2 separate regions of the Homo sapiens genome follow, and region 2 is linked to region 1. The links are contacts of gene promoters, found by promoter capture Hi-C in blood cells and fetal thymus (Javierre and others, 2016). All regions are on one chromosome and are shown on one strand. The core of a region is centred on a gene start or on the middle of the fragment in contact, and the rest is flanking DNA. Distances in the headings are between cores, read along the strand shown. Region 1 holds the start of CPEB2 (cytoplasmic polyadenylation element binding protein 2). Region 2 holds the start of QDPR (quinoid dihydropteridine reductase).

Evidence for each region. Contacts are between HindIII fragments. The CHiCAGO score rates a contact against its expected background, and 5 or more counts as called.
Region 2: the fragment with the promoter of QDPR here is called in contact with the fragment with the promoter of CPEB2 in region 1 in 2 of 17 cell types (non-activated CD4 T cells and naive CD8 T cells); the score reaches 5.9 in non-activated CD4 T cells.

Annotation. Positions count from the first base shown.
Region 1 is chr4:15,000,086-15,006,429 of GRCh38, reverse strand. CPEB2 (cytoplasmic polyadenylation element binding protein 2) reads right to left here and starts at 3,949. Exons shown (of 12, transcript NM_001177382.2): 1 at 2,095-3,949. The coding sequence starts at 3,756. CPEB2-DT (CPEB2 divergent transcript) reads left to right here and starts at 4,385. Exons shown (of 8, transcript NR_038857.1): 1 at 4,385-4,492; 2 at 4,705-4,804; 3 at 5,201-5,269. It overlaps C1QTNF7-AS1 (C1QTNF7 antisense RNA 1), which reads left to right. Exons shown (of 6, transcript NR_125911.1): 6 at 1,273-1,488. RefSeq lists enhancers at 1,503-2,069, 4,911-4,960 and silencers at 1,511-2,110, 2,491-2,700, 2,801-2,950, 3,001-3,310, 3,811-4,670. The HindIII fragment of the contact is 6,054 bases long and covers 1-4,689 here.
Region 2 is chr4:17,509,859-17,516,202 of GRCh38, reverse strand. QDPR (quinoid dihydropteridine reductase) reads left to right here and starts at 4,113. Exons shown (of 7, transcript NM_000320.3): 1 at 4,113-4,253. The coding sequence starts at 4,149. It overlaps CLRN2 (clarin 2), which reads right to left and starts at 1,038. Exons shown (of 3, transcript NM_001079827.2): 1 at 684-1,038. The coding sequence starts at 936. RefSeq lists a silencer at 3,905-4,484. The HindIII fragment of the contact is 4,464 bases long and covers 3,088-6,344 here.

The sequences.
Region 1 (6,344 bases), core at 2,700-5,199:
TTTTTTTTTTAAGAAGTATTCATTGCTGGTAATTCTACTGTCAGTAAGTTTATACTTTAATACTTTGGTGTTAAGATGTAGCTAAAGAAGTATGAACCATACAGTTACTACAAATAAATATGGTTCTCTTAAAATTGAACCTGCTTTTTGTAAGACAATTAAAAGAGAAACTCCTGATCTACAGCACCAATTTTTAAACACTTTTAAATGCTAACATAATCATGAGTATATTATTACTCTTTCCTCTTCCACAGAGGTCCAAAGCATAATTACAGAGCCATGGACAAACCACTTCATTCTTGAGGGCCTTACTCTCCTTATTAAATGATTTAATGCTCAAAGTTATCTTCCAGTGATCTAAAATTCCATATGAAAGCTGTGTGACCTCTCACACTCCATGGCTAGACCCATCTTTTGTCCAAAAGCAAATTACAGTTAAATATGGATCATGGTATATGTTCTTCCAACGCTCTGTACCACAACTTTAAGTAAATACAAAATTACCTACAGATAATTTTCTGTGGGCAAGTTTCCAGATAACAAAATGAAGATCCTGAGACACAAAAGACAGTTGCTGAGGGTTATAAAAATCATGAAAAAGTGGAACATTATTTCAAAATCCCTATTTTCAATCCTCATAGGCCACATTCTCTTTTCTAAGAAAGAAATCAGTGATTCAACAAAAACTGTTCACTGTCACTTTGGTTAACTTAGATAAACTGTTAACTTTCACTTGGGTTAATTTAGATAATATTCACTTTAAAAAGACTAATCCTTGAAAACTTTGGTCAACTGAAAAAGTTATGGGGTTAAGGTCATATTTTGCGTCTCTGTCAATCCTTAATCACGAAAATAGAAAATGGACTTAAACAGAATGAACTCTGCAACAAATGCTAACAAGATTCAAAACCAACAAGACACTCTTTCAATGCCAATTTACCAATCTAGCGGTCACCCAAAAATTGTATTGAGGGAATAACAAAAAAGATCTTGAATCAAAAAAGATCCGGAAAATAAAAATTCTGCCCAGTGTCATTTCACAATATTACCTACTTAAAATACACACGGCCCACATATTCCCTTGTAGAAGGTTAAGGCAACCAAAAAATGTACCGAAAGTCTACGAGGAAACACACCAATCCCAGATCCAAGTTCAGTTTTGTCTTAAAACCCACAAAACATGACCCCAACATTGAAAAGCACAGAAACTAAGACATTCGTGGGATATCTCGGTTTGAACCCGAGCGGTCACTAACAGTTTCTCTTTCCCAGTCCTGTGACAGCCAAGGAGGCGGCCCCGCGGGAACCAGGTCCTGCGAGGAGGGCGGTCGGCCGCTCCCTCCCGACTCCCTCCTGGGCCGGCGGCCCAGGGTGCGGCGCTGCCAGCAGGTTGATCGGGCGGAGCTTTGGGAGCGGCTCGACTGACCGCCCGAGGGGCTGAGGCTTCAAGGCGAGATCACCGCCGGCCAAATAAGAATAAACAAACTCCAAAGAAAAAAAAAAGCCTTTCCGCCTTCCCTCATTGGACAGCGAGACAGAGTCTTGGGCTCCTCCGCACGCACCTTCTCCAGCAATCATTTTTCCCCTGCCCAAGTTCACTTCCCACGGCCGCTCTTCCGAGGCCCCCGGCCAGCCCCCGGTCCTCGCCGCGCCTCCCCGCGTCGGGGGTCCGGGGCGGCGGCCCTCCAGGCCCAGGGCACAGGGCGGATCCCGGGGTGCGCCAGCTAGGAGGGCCGGGTTGAGACGCCGCGCCCGGCCGCCCGCGGCCCCGGCGCTATTCGGCCCCTGCCCCAGTCCCCACTGCTGCGCCGGGACGTTCGAGGGGGCGCCCGGCCAGCCGCGGCTCCCAGCGCGAACTCGTCTCCCACGCCCCCACAGCCCACGGTGGCCACTGCCCTCCCAACCCACCGGGGGCTGGGGTTCCGAGTCCTGTCACGGTTGTCCGCCCTCAGTTCCACTCTCACTTGGGCGAGTGGCCCCCGTCGCGGCTTCTCTCGGGGCTAAGGTCGGGTCCCCGGCTGCCCTGCCCCCGCCTCCGTCCCCCGCCCATGGTCTCCCGGTCCCGCGGCGCGGCCAGGCCGCCGCCCGCCGTACCTGGTGGTGGTTATAGGAGTTCCTCTGCTGCAGGAAGGCGGCGGCCGCCGCCTGGTGCTGCTGCTGGAGCTGCGGGCTGACGGGCGACCTCCGGCTCTGCGGCTGCTGCGGCGCCGCGGGCGGCGGGGGCTGCTGTTGAGGTATATTCATGGCGGGCGGCGGCGGAGGGGGCACAGCGGTAGCCGAGAAGGGGCCGCCGAAGCCGCCGCCGCCGCCGCCGCTCGTCGGAACGCTGAGCCCAGTGCAGCCGTGCGGCGACACGGGCGAGAAGCTAGGGAAGAAGGCCGGGTTCATGGACGACGGCAGCCCGGGGTAGAAGCCGTTCTCTGAGTCGGGGCTGGGCGGCGGCATGGCGCTGAGCGAGCCGCCGCTGCCGCCGCCCGGGGTGGTGGCAGACGAGCCGGGCGGCTGCGGCTGCGGCTGGGGCGGCTGCTGGGGTGGCGGCGGCTGCTGCTGCGGCTGGGTCGGCGGCGGCTGCTGGGGCTGGGGTGGCGGCGACGCGGTCTGCACCGACCAGGGGGTGCCGAAGCCGGGCAGCGGCGGCGGCGACGCGGAGCCGCCTCCCCCTCCGCCTCCTGGGGGCCCCCCGCCCCCGCCGCCGCCGCCGCCGCCCGGGTGTGGAAGGTCCGGGCTCTGCAGGCTGCTGAAGGCGCCCGCGCCAAGCGCACCTCCGGGCAGGAGGTTACTGGGACTGTTGAGCAGAGGGTGGTTGGGGGACTCCATGGAGCCCGGCGCGGGGTTCACCGGCGTCGAGGAGGCCAAGCCCGCATTGGGGGACTCGGCGGCGCTGCCCTCGCCCGCGGCTGGGGTCTTGCGAGGGCTGCCCGCGCCTCCGTGGCGGCGCCGCGGGGCTGCAGGCGGCGAGGGAGGGAGCTGCGGGAGCGGGGGCAGGTCTGCCGGACGCTGCCGCGGGGCGAAGTCCTGCGGCGAGAGGTGCTGCTGATGCAGGAGGCTGAACTGCTGCGGCGGCTGTTGCTGCTGGCGCTGAGCGAGCTGCGCCGGCTGGAGGAGCGGGCCGGCTGGCGGCGGCGGCGGGCTGAACCGACCGGGGCAGTGGAGCGGCGGAGGCGGCGGCGGCGGCTTCGAGTCCGGAGGGTGGGGAAGGTGGGGAGGGCTGAACTCTTTCCTCTTCTGGCTGCTCAGCTGCTGCTGCTGCCGCTTACTGAAGTCCTGCGGGGAGGAGGTGCGGCAGCAGCAGCAGGAGGAGGCGGAGGAGGAGGAGGGGTGGTGCAGACTCGGTTTGAAGTCCTGGGAGGGGAGGAGGTGGGTCACACCCGCGATCGTGCCGCCGCCGGGGTGGTGGTCGGGGAGTTTCTCCGTGGCCGCCGCCCCCGAAAGCGGCCGCGCCGGCTGCTGTGTCAGCCCCAGAAGCAGCTCATCCTGCATGGTCTGCTGATGCGCCAGGAACGGGGAGGAAGAGGAAGCGGCGGCGGCCGGGCTGCCCGCGCCGCCGCCGAGGGGGACGGAGAAGGGGGAGGCGGCCTCTAAGAAGCCGGTGACAGGCAACGGTGGTGGCGACAGTGGGCCGAAGGGCGTGGCGGAGGGCAGCGGGTTGACGGACCCCACGGCGTAAGGACCATACGCCTCGCCGCAGAACAGGGGCCCAGGACTGCTACTTCGGAGCGGGGCGGTCTGCAGCACCCCAAACCCGAAATCCCTCATTTATCAGGCCGCCGGCAGCGGGAGGAGACGCTCCTCGTCCCCTGCCCCACCTAGGAAGCCGCCGGCGCTGGGGTTGCGCGGCCGTGGTGGAAGGAGGGGGAGTCAGTGAGAGAGGGACACCGTGACTGAGCCAGGGGGCACCGACTTCGGCCCCACCACCCCTCGCGGCGATCGCCGCCGCCGCCGCCGTCGCAGTCGCCGTAGCCGCCCTGGCCGCTTAAGAACCCCGGAACGTGCGTCAGCGCCACCTCACAATCGCGCCGCCCCCCGCGGTGCGTCCCGGCACGCGCGGGCGCGAGGCCACCGCGTCCCCGTCGCCCCTCCCCGCCCCTCATTACTATGCAGACGCAGCCGAGGGCGCGCTCGCGCTCCCGGGAGGGCGGGAGCGAGCGGCGTGTCCCGTTGGGTCTCTCCGCTCCCGGGGAAATGGACAGGCCGGTTGGGGTGGGGGTCGGCTGGCAAACAGTGGTCGGGAGCATTGGGCGGGCGCGCGCACGAGGGCAAGCACGCGCGGGAGGGAGGGACGGTTCCTGGGCAACGGCCCCTCCTTGGCGCGGGATCCGCGCAGAGTCTGCCTGGGTCGCACGCGTCTCCGCCCCTCGCGGTGCCTCCTCCTTCCTGTCACCTCGGTTCCGCCCTGGGTGGGGAGAAGCCCTGCTGCACCACTCGGGCTTCCCAGAGCGGGGCTGGCCCGCGGGGGAAACTGAGGCCCGGGACCCCGACCGGCGCCTGCACTGTGCGACCCGCGTAGAAATAGGCGCCCGAGGGGCCCCCAGCGCAACGCGGGAGCCCGGCCCAGCCCGGGGGTCCTGTGGTGAACTAGCGTCTGGGCTCTGCCGGCTTGAAGTCCGCTGAGCGCCTCGCCGCGCACCTCTAGACCCCGAGTCCCCGATCTAGGGCCTCCTTGTAGCCCTAGGTAGCGCCCTCTAAGCTTGTTTCTGTTTTTAGGCGCTGGTAGGAGTGCTGTCACCGACGTCGTAGAGCCGCCGAGGGTGTTTCTGTAGGGTAAACATGAAGCCTCGGCTATATTCCAGGCATTTTCACTTGGGTAAGAAGGAACAAAGTCCCTGGAACAAACACGCTCCGCGTGGTTATTTACACACTCGGATGCGTGGAACGGGTTCCACGGCGAGCTCCCATAGTAACCCCGGGCCAGCTCCGCTTCATAAAAGCCTTTCGTGTGCCATCAGGGCTGCAGCGTGGGACTCCTCCCCACCACATTCATTCCGGCGTCCCCGCCCCTTCCCCCCAGGGAGACTCTAATTTATTCCTAAGCTTTATGAATTTTCAAGGGAGAAATAGTTCTTACATCAGGGAAAAAAGGAGGTTCTGACTCAGCAGCAGACTTGTTGAGACTTGCAAAATGGAAGGGAGAGAGCTTTCCATGGTAGAGCTCTTTAGAAGCATTAGAGGAGGAACTAATCCTGTGTTTCCTTTTGTATAGAAACATTTTACATAAAGTATTTGAAGGTCTAGATAAAGAATAACAGAGTGATCCATACTACATGATGAGGTGAACTTTATGTTTCTGTTTTGTAATTTTAACTGTTTTGCTTGATGCTTAGAGAAATGAAACTATTAAATGAATCCTAGAATATAGACTCAAACCCCCAAAGCAATAGAAGGTGGATTCAGACTTTACTTGATTTTGGTTTACAAGTGAACTAAGATTAAATATTTAATTTTATAAATTAGCATACTCTTACTGATGTAGGCAGAGTGTACATTTTTATAAGTCCTCATTCTCTATTTGAATTCTACTTCTGTTCAGTGTCTCAAATTTATATAAATCGAAATAAACATGGTAGAAAGAGAGCAACATTGCCCCAGGGAACTATACTTCATGTATAATGTTTATCTCTGCTATCCTGTCCAATGAACCAAGTTTTATGTTGCCTTTACAATAAGGAAAAAGTACTTTTTAAAAAACTCAAATGGTTCAGAATTTGGTCAGGTGAATAGAAAATTGGTTCAACTTATTAATCTCAAAATCATTTTTAACAGTCAGGCAAAATGTAGAACTGGAGAAGTATTTTTATTCTAAATTACAATGTCTAGAAAATAACCTGAGCTCAGAATTTAAAATATAAATGGTTATTTTCAGAGTATATATTGACATATTAAATATTCATTTTTTAAAAGGTATTGTGCAGGAAAAAAAACTACTTCTGCAACTAAGGAATGTAAAGTCTTAACAACGGATGATTTTTTTCCAAGTACAGTTGTATTTGATTGGAATCATTTGCAGATCCAACAACAAATCTTGAAATAGGGGGAAAATACAGGTATAAACCTTAGCTCAATTATCCACTAACACCGCAGTTAGTAAAGAGGAGAGAGCACATACTTTTAAAAGCTAACTGGTGCCTTTCTGGGCTAGAGTTTTGAACAAAAACAAGATTTCTTAGTGCTCTGGTACTAGTTTTGTCTTAGAGGATTTAGAGCTCTCTGAAACGGGGAAAAGCCATCAAGTTTGTTATTACATAATAATGTCAAACTTCATATTAAATACACCAAATTCCAAATCCTGCCAGGGCCTCTACTCACTACTTTTGTGAGGGCCCCATTTTTTTAGAGCAGAAAGTTAC
Region 2 (6,344 bases), core at 2,864-5,363, 2.5 Mb before region 1:
GAACAGGCAAGTGCCTTGCTTGAGGTCTCCCCACCAGTAAACTTTCCAGTAGGGGTTTCAGCCAGGGTAGTCTGATTCCAGAACCCAAGCACAGTGCCCCTTTGCATTTTCTCAGACTATGAAGCTTTTACAAAAGTAGATGTGGAAAGGGTCATCATGCTTCCCAAAGGTTCAGTTCTGCAGGCAGCCTCCACCCACTTGTTGTGGTCATGTGGCATGGGTCTGGAGTCCGGCTCTACTGTTTCCTGGCTGGGTGACCTCAGGTAAGTTATGTAACCTCTCCAAGCCTCAGTGTACTCCTCTGGAAAATGGGAACATTAACAATTCCTTCTGTATAACTTTGTTGTAAGGCTTTAAGGAGACAAGTGGCGTGAGGTGCTTACAATGTCTGACACGTGTAAACTCTCAATATTTTAATAGTCATAATTAATAGAGGTAAACTGCAAAAATGCACAAATCCTTATTTCTAATGTTTCTATACATCTCTACAGAAAAAGAAAAGGAAGCAAGGAAGGAAGGAAAGATCTTTTTGATGTGGATCCAGAACCCTTGGCTCACTGTGGACTTTGACATTATGCCTGACGTTGAGGCAGCAGCCAAATTCCACAATGAGACATAAGCACTCTTACACATTAACAAAAATGAGTGCCTAGAATCAGCTTTCATGCTCCCAATATACTCACTCGTGAATTGGGATTGGCGGCCCCCAAGCCCACACTGCCGCACTTTACACCCTCGGAAGAGCCCGTAGTAAATGTCCCCAATGAACTTGACCAGCTCTCTGTCTGTGGCGTTGACCAGATCCACTCCAGTCTGACAAAGGATTTTCCCACTCAGCCAGTGGGGCACTACCAGGGCAACGATGATCAGGATGAAGGAGGAGAAGCTGAGTAAAGACGCCAGCCCATACCACGCCTTTTTGAACCATCCAGGCATGCTAGTGGGTGCAGGTCATCCCCAAGGTCTCCGAGCAGCAGCGAGGGTCATTGACATCTTTCAGATACTCGGCAATGCTCTGCTCCAAGGTCAGCTCTTCCAAACACTCTGTTTCAAGGTTGTAGGTCCATCCTCTCGTCCTCCTTCAGCGCAAGCTTGCACAGTCCATGCTTCCTACAACCACATCCAGAAGCCTCTACAGAGACAATCTTCACCTGACTATGTAGCGGAGTGTGTTACTGAAGGAAGTAACCTTATATCTCCTCCTAGACTAATGTTTCAGCAGACTGTTTAACTGTTCCTCGTTTCAAGTATTTAAATAGCCCTGGTGTGGACCTCGTAATGATAAAGGAGTTAGTAATAAGCAAAATCAGGTAGCTCTGAAGATTAAGAGACGCAAACCAATCTCAAAAAATGCATGTGTTAGAAGGAAAACAAAAACAGAATGATTAGCACTTGAATATTGCCAACAATGCGCAGTATCAAATGTCGATCTCGCTGATGCATGGGTGCCCTGGCATTTCTTTCTCTGAAATGTCACTGCTGTCAGAATCTTTAGGACTGTTATTAATACCATCAAATGACCCCGGTTCTTGGGGCTTTAATATTGAAATGTGTAAATAGGGCCTTATGAATTTCTCACTGTGTGAATCTGCTGGGGGTAAACTGTGACTAGAATTACTTTGTGGCTGTTGGGGTAGCCTGGAATCCAACACTTAACATTGCTCTCACCCGTCCCTCCTTCTACGTTATCTGAAATGGGAGAGAAAAGTGTTTTTCTAGTGTATTAGCAAATAGTAGCCACACTGCTGGGGTATTCATCTCTTCTAATAGTGGAAGATCTAGGCTTTCCTTTTAATCTGTAGATACTAGGAATGAAATATTCTTTCCTTTCTATCTTATACTGTGGACTTTGACATTTTGACTTTTACCTTATTCCTGAATATCAACTTAACATCATGTGAGACTGGCAACAGTCACTCTATCCATATCTCTGGGGAGCAAAGTTGGGCAAAAGTGGAGCAGTAAAATTTCTTAGTTGGTCACAGAAGCCTGAAGGGGGGTTCAGGAAGTTGCACTGTTAACCAATAGGGGTCCCAGGAATCTCACTTGGAGAGTGTCAAGGAAGCAGAGGGACACATTAATGGAAATGTCAGTTTCCTTCCTCGCAACTGGGGCTCACTTCAGTGGCCACTCCACAATGAAAATAAAAATGAGAATTTCTGAGCCTGGGCAATGTAGTGAGACCTTATCTCTACAAAAAATAAAAAAAAAAAATAGTTGGGCCTGATGGCGTGTATTTGTAGTCCCAGCTACTGGAGGCTGAGGCTGGAAGACTGCTCCAGCCCAGGAGCTCAAGGCTGTAGTGAGCTATGATCATGCCACTCTGAGTAACAGAGTGAGATCCTGTCTCTTACTATATATACAGATGAGTGGCACTTTACCATGTACAAAATGCAAAATGCTTTGACCATATGCTTGCTCACCTCTGATGCTCCAGCAACCCTTTAAGGTAAACAGGAGATGCACGATTTCAGCCATTTCTCTCATGAAAAACTGGATGTCAGTGCTGGGGCTGAAATTCAGGTCTTTGAATTACAACAGCTCATCTTCATCCCAGTGACTTTGAAACAGCAAATGTTTTTCTGGTAAAAAATAACAGAATACATATAAAAGGCTCAGAAGACTGCTTGGCACATTAAGTGATCAATAATGTTAGTTCACGTTCTTATTTTAACATTAAGCATGCTTTGACAAGTCAGGACTTGCGTAAATATCATTGAGTCATATTTCTGCCGTCAGTGAGGGACCTGTGTCAACTTTTGGTGTTTTGAGGGTTAAGCAATTGTTTTCAGAAAAACTCTAAGGGAAACACTTGATTCCCAACAAGCCTTTGTCTTGCTGAACAAAGGTGTGGTTAAGTGGAACTCTAGCTATTGAAGACCTGTGTTCAAATTCCCACTCTTCCAGACAAGTGTCTGTGACTCTCATGCCTCAGCTTTCTAATCTGCATAGGATTATCGTGTGGAGTAAAGTGAAATAGCACAGGCAGATCACTTAGCGCAGTGCCTTGGATATAAGGAGCACTAAATAGATGGTGCTCTCCTCTCCATCCAGCCTCCTAGCAGTTCTATTTCTGATAATGAAGCTTCTGACAACAAAATGTGCTGCTGGCTGCATCCTCTTCTCTAGTGACATATTTCTGCATGCTTTACCTGGCACAAGTTTACTGAACAAACATCTGTGTCTGCTGTGTACAAGGTTATATGTGGATGGGAAGTGACACAAAGATGTATGTAATACAGGGTTCTGCTATCAAGAAGGTTATGAGAGTGTTAGAGCTCTGGTTCTCTATCAGTGATGAATTTGCCCCTAGGAGACAACTGTTAAATCTGGAGATATTTTTGATTCTTATGAGTGAGGGGTAGGGGTTTGCTATTGATTTCTAGTATATGCAGGCCAGGGATGCTGTAAATATCCTACAGTACCCAGGGCAGCACCTGTCACAAATAATTATCTGGCCCAAAATGTCAGTAGTGCTGTAGATGAGAGGCTCTGTGTTAAAGATACAGGCCATGGGCAGAAATAACTAATATACAAGGGAGAAAATGCCAGGATCTGTGTCTGGCGATGGGTGGCATATAGTAAAAGGGCCATTTGGATTAATGGGTATAAATTTACGGTTAGATAGAAGAAATAAGACCTAGTGTGGTTTGTCTCGTCTCGGCGGTGGACTTTCAGCTCCTTGAGCGGAGCGACCTCTTCTGTTTTTTTGGCAGGTGGGAATACTTAAATCTCTATTTTGATGCACAATTAAAAATAAAAAATTGCCAAAACAGTGGTCGAAAATTGTACTATACTATATTTTACATGCTTACACTTCACAAATTAATGCTCGTAAAACACCCGCTCTCCACCCTCCTCGCCCTTAGCCCGGCTCGCTGCACGCCCCGAGGCCCAGCACTTGCTGGCGGGTGGGAGGAGGGGCTTCGCCGATGTCCCCGTCCCAGGGGCAGGGCCTGGCCGAAGTTACAGTCCCTCCGGGTGGCGGGGCGCCCCGAGCGTGGCAGCGCGCTAGGCGGCAGCAGCGGGCGCGGAGCGGGGCGCGGCCGCCGCGCGTTCCCTCTTGGCGGGGTTGGCCGGCCGGGGCGGGGCGCGGCGCTCCGGCTCGAGGCATTCGGAGCTGCGGGAGCCGGGCTGGCAGGAGCAGGATGGCGGCGGCGGCGGCTGCAGGCGAGGCGCGCCGGGTGCTGGTGTACGGCGGCAGGGGCGCTCTGGGTTCTCGATGCGTGCAGGCTTTTCGGGCCCGCAACTGGGTAATGCTGCGGGCTGGGGCTGCTGGGTCTCCGCGGGGGTGGCCGGGGGCTTTCGTGTGGAACCCGGCGGGGGGCAGTCTAGAGGAAGGTGGGGGCCCCTGTGCACCCCCTGACTCGTGTTGCTTGCACGTGCGCGCACAGGTCTACGCGTCTATTCCTGTTTCCGAGTGCGTGCGCACGCCAGTCCCAGGGCGCTGGGCCTTTGCTGTGCAAGGAGGTGCTCCGTGGGCCTCCGCCAGACCCAAAAAGTCCGGCGTGACTCGGGAGAGAATTCCAAAGGGGAGGAACGGGAGCAGGGGTGAGAGGACGGAGAGAGAGTGTAGAAGGAAGGCTCTAGAATGAGACAGCCCAGTCCCGGTTACTAGTCATGAGACCGCGTATTGATTACCTAACGCCGTAGGACCTCGGTTTCCCCATTTGTACAACGGAGATTCTGACAGTGAGAGTTGGGACGATTAGATGAGATAATTGGTGTCGTTGCACATAAATTACCTGACGCCTGGTAAAAACTGTTTAAATGCTGTCTATTAATGTTACTATTACTACCCACCCCTGTTCTTTTAGCCCCATTGGATCTGACAGTTTGAAGGCTCAGCACGGAAAAACGCTGACGGCTTCTTTGCTCTGCAAAGACTATTTCAACTACTTTGCATAGTCAGGTGTCAATTTCCAGGAGGCGGCAAGTCGGAGCAGAGCTGATACATGGCCAAAGACCCTTGACCTCAGCCGCTCAGCAGGCCTCAGCAATTTCCCGGTGGAGACACTGCCAGCGGCAGCGTTCTGGGAGCTTAGTTAGCAGCAGCAGCACAGCAGCCTGGGCAAGAGTTCCCCTGGGACCAGAAAAAGGCTTTCAGGATTTTCTTTAAAAAAAAACTATCTAATTTTTATAGATGAAGGGGGCAAAAGTACAGTTTAGTTACATGGATATGTTGTGTAGTGGTGAAGTCTGGGCTTTTAGTGTAACCATCACCCAAATAGTGTACATTTACCAAGGTTTTCTTGTTGCTCAGAATCTGGTACAGGAATATGCTTCTGAAGAATTCAGTCACACCACTCCCTTCCTGCCACCCATCTGCTCAGTGCTTGGGGACACTGATGAGGGCGCTTTCCCAGGTCTTCAGAGATGCATGGTGGTGACAGAGGCAGCACTTCTGCCAAGGGCCAGGCACTGTGTTCCCAGTACCAGAGTTCCCATAGACTCTTAATGCCCCCAATATCTTTAAGGCAGTAGATCCTGTTAGCGTCATGTGTTAGAGGGTGAAGGCTGTGCTTTCTCCTGGTGGTGGCACTTTGGTTTACCTTGGTCTTGGCAGAATCTGGAGAGCTGATTTACCTCTGGCTCTTGGTCTTTCCCCTCCGAGCTTCTTCCTGCCATCTTAGGGAGGGCTAGGATGATGGAGACTTTTCATTGTTTCAGTATCCCCCATGGGATAACAAGTTAATTAATAATATAACAAATGTTGATGAATAGATGCTGTGTTTACAGCTTAAGGTAGAGATAATTATCTCTGGGGACTTCAGACCAAGAGACCCTGAGTAAGGACTGAACATCCCCTGTGCCAGGAGCTTTAGCATCTTCCATTTCATTTAATTCTTACACTGACCCTGTTAATCATCAACAAACAACCTCTTTTGTTGGGAACCTCTGCCCGGCATCGGAGTGAGAAAGCCACTCTGGCAGAGCTGGGATTCAAACCTGATCTGTCTGATTTCCAATCCTAAAGTCCATCCCTCTCTGCTGCAGGACAGGGATCCTTTGTGAGCTGAATCTGGTCTGCCACCTGTTTTTGTACAGCCCAAGAGTTAAGAATAGTTTTACATTTTCAGGTGGTTGAAAAGAAAATCAAATGAAGAATTATATTTTGTTGTATATGAAAATTAATGAAATTCACATTTCAGCTCTGAAGATTTATTGGAACACAGCTGCACTTATTTTTTCCCCCTATTTATTGCTGTGTTCTGTTACAATTGCAGATTTGAGTAACAACAGATACCATATGGCCAGCAAAGCCTAAGGTAATTGTGATCTGGCCCTTTACAGAAAATTTGCTGGCCCTTGATGTCTCTAGAAGTGCAGGGTTTGTGTTTTAG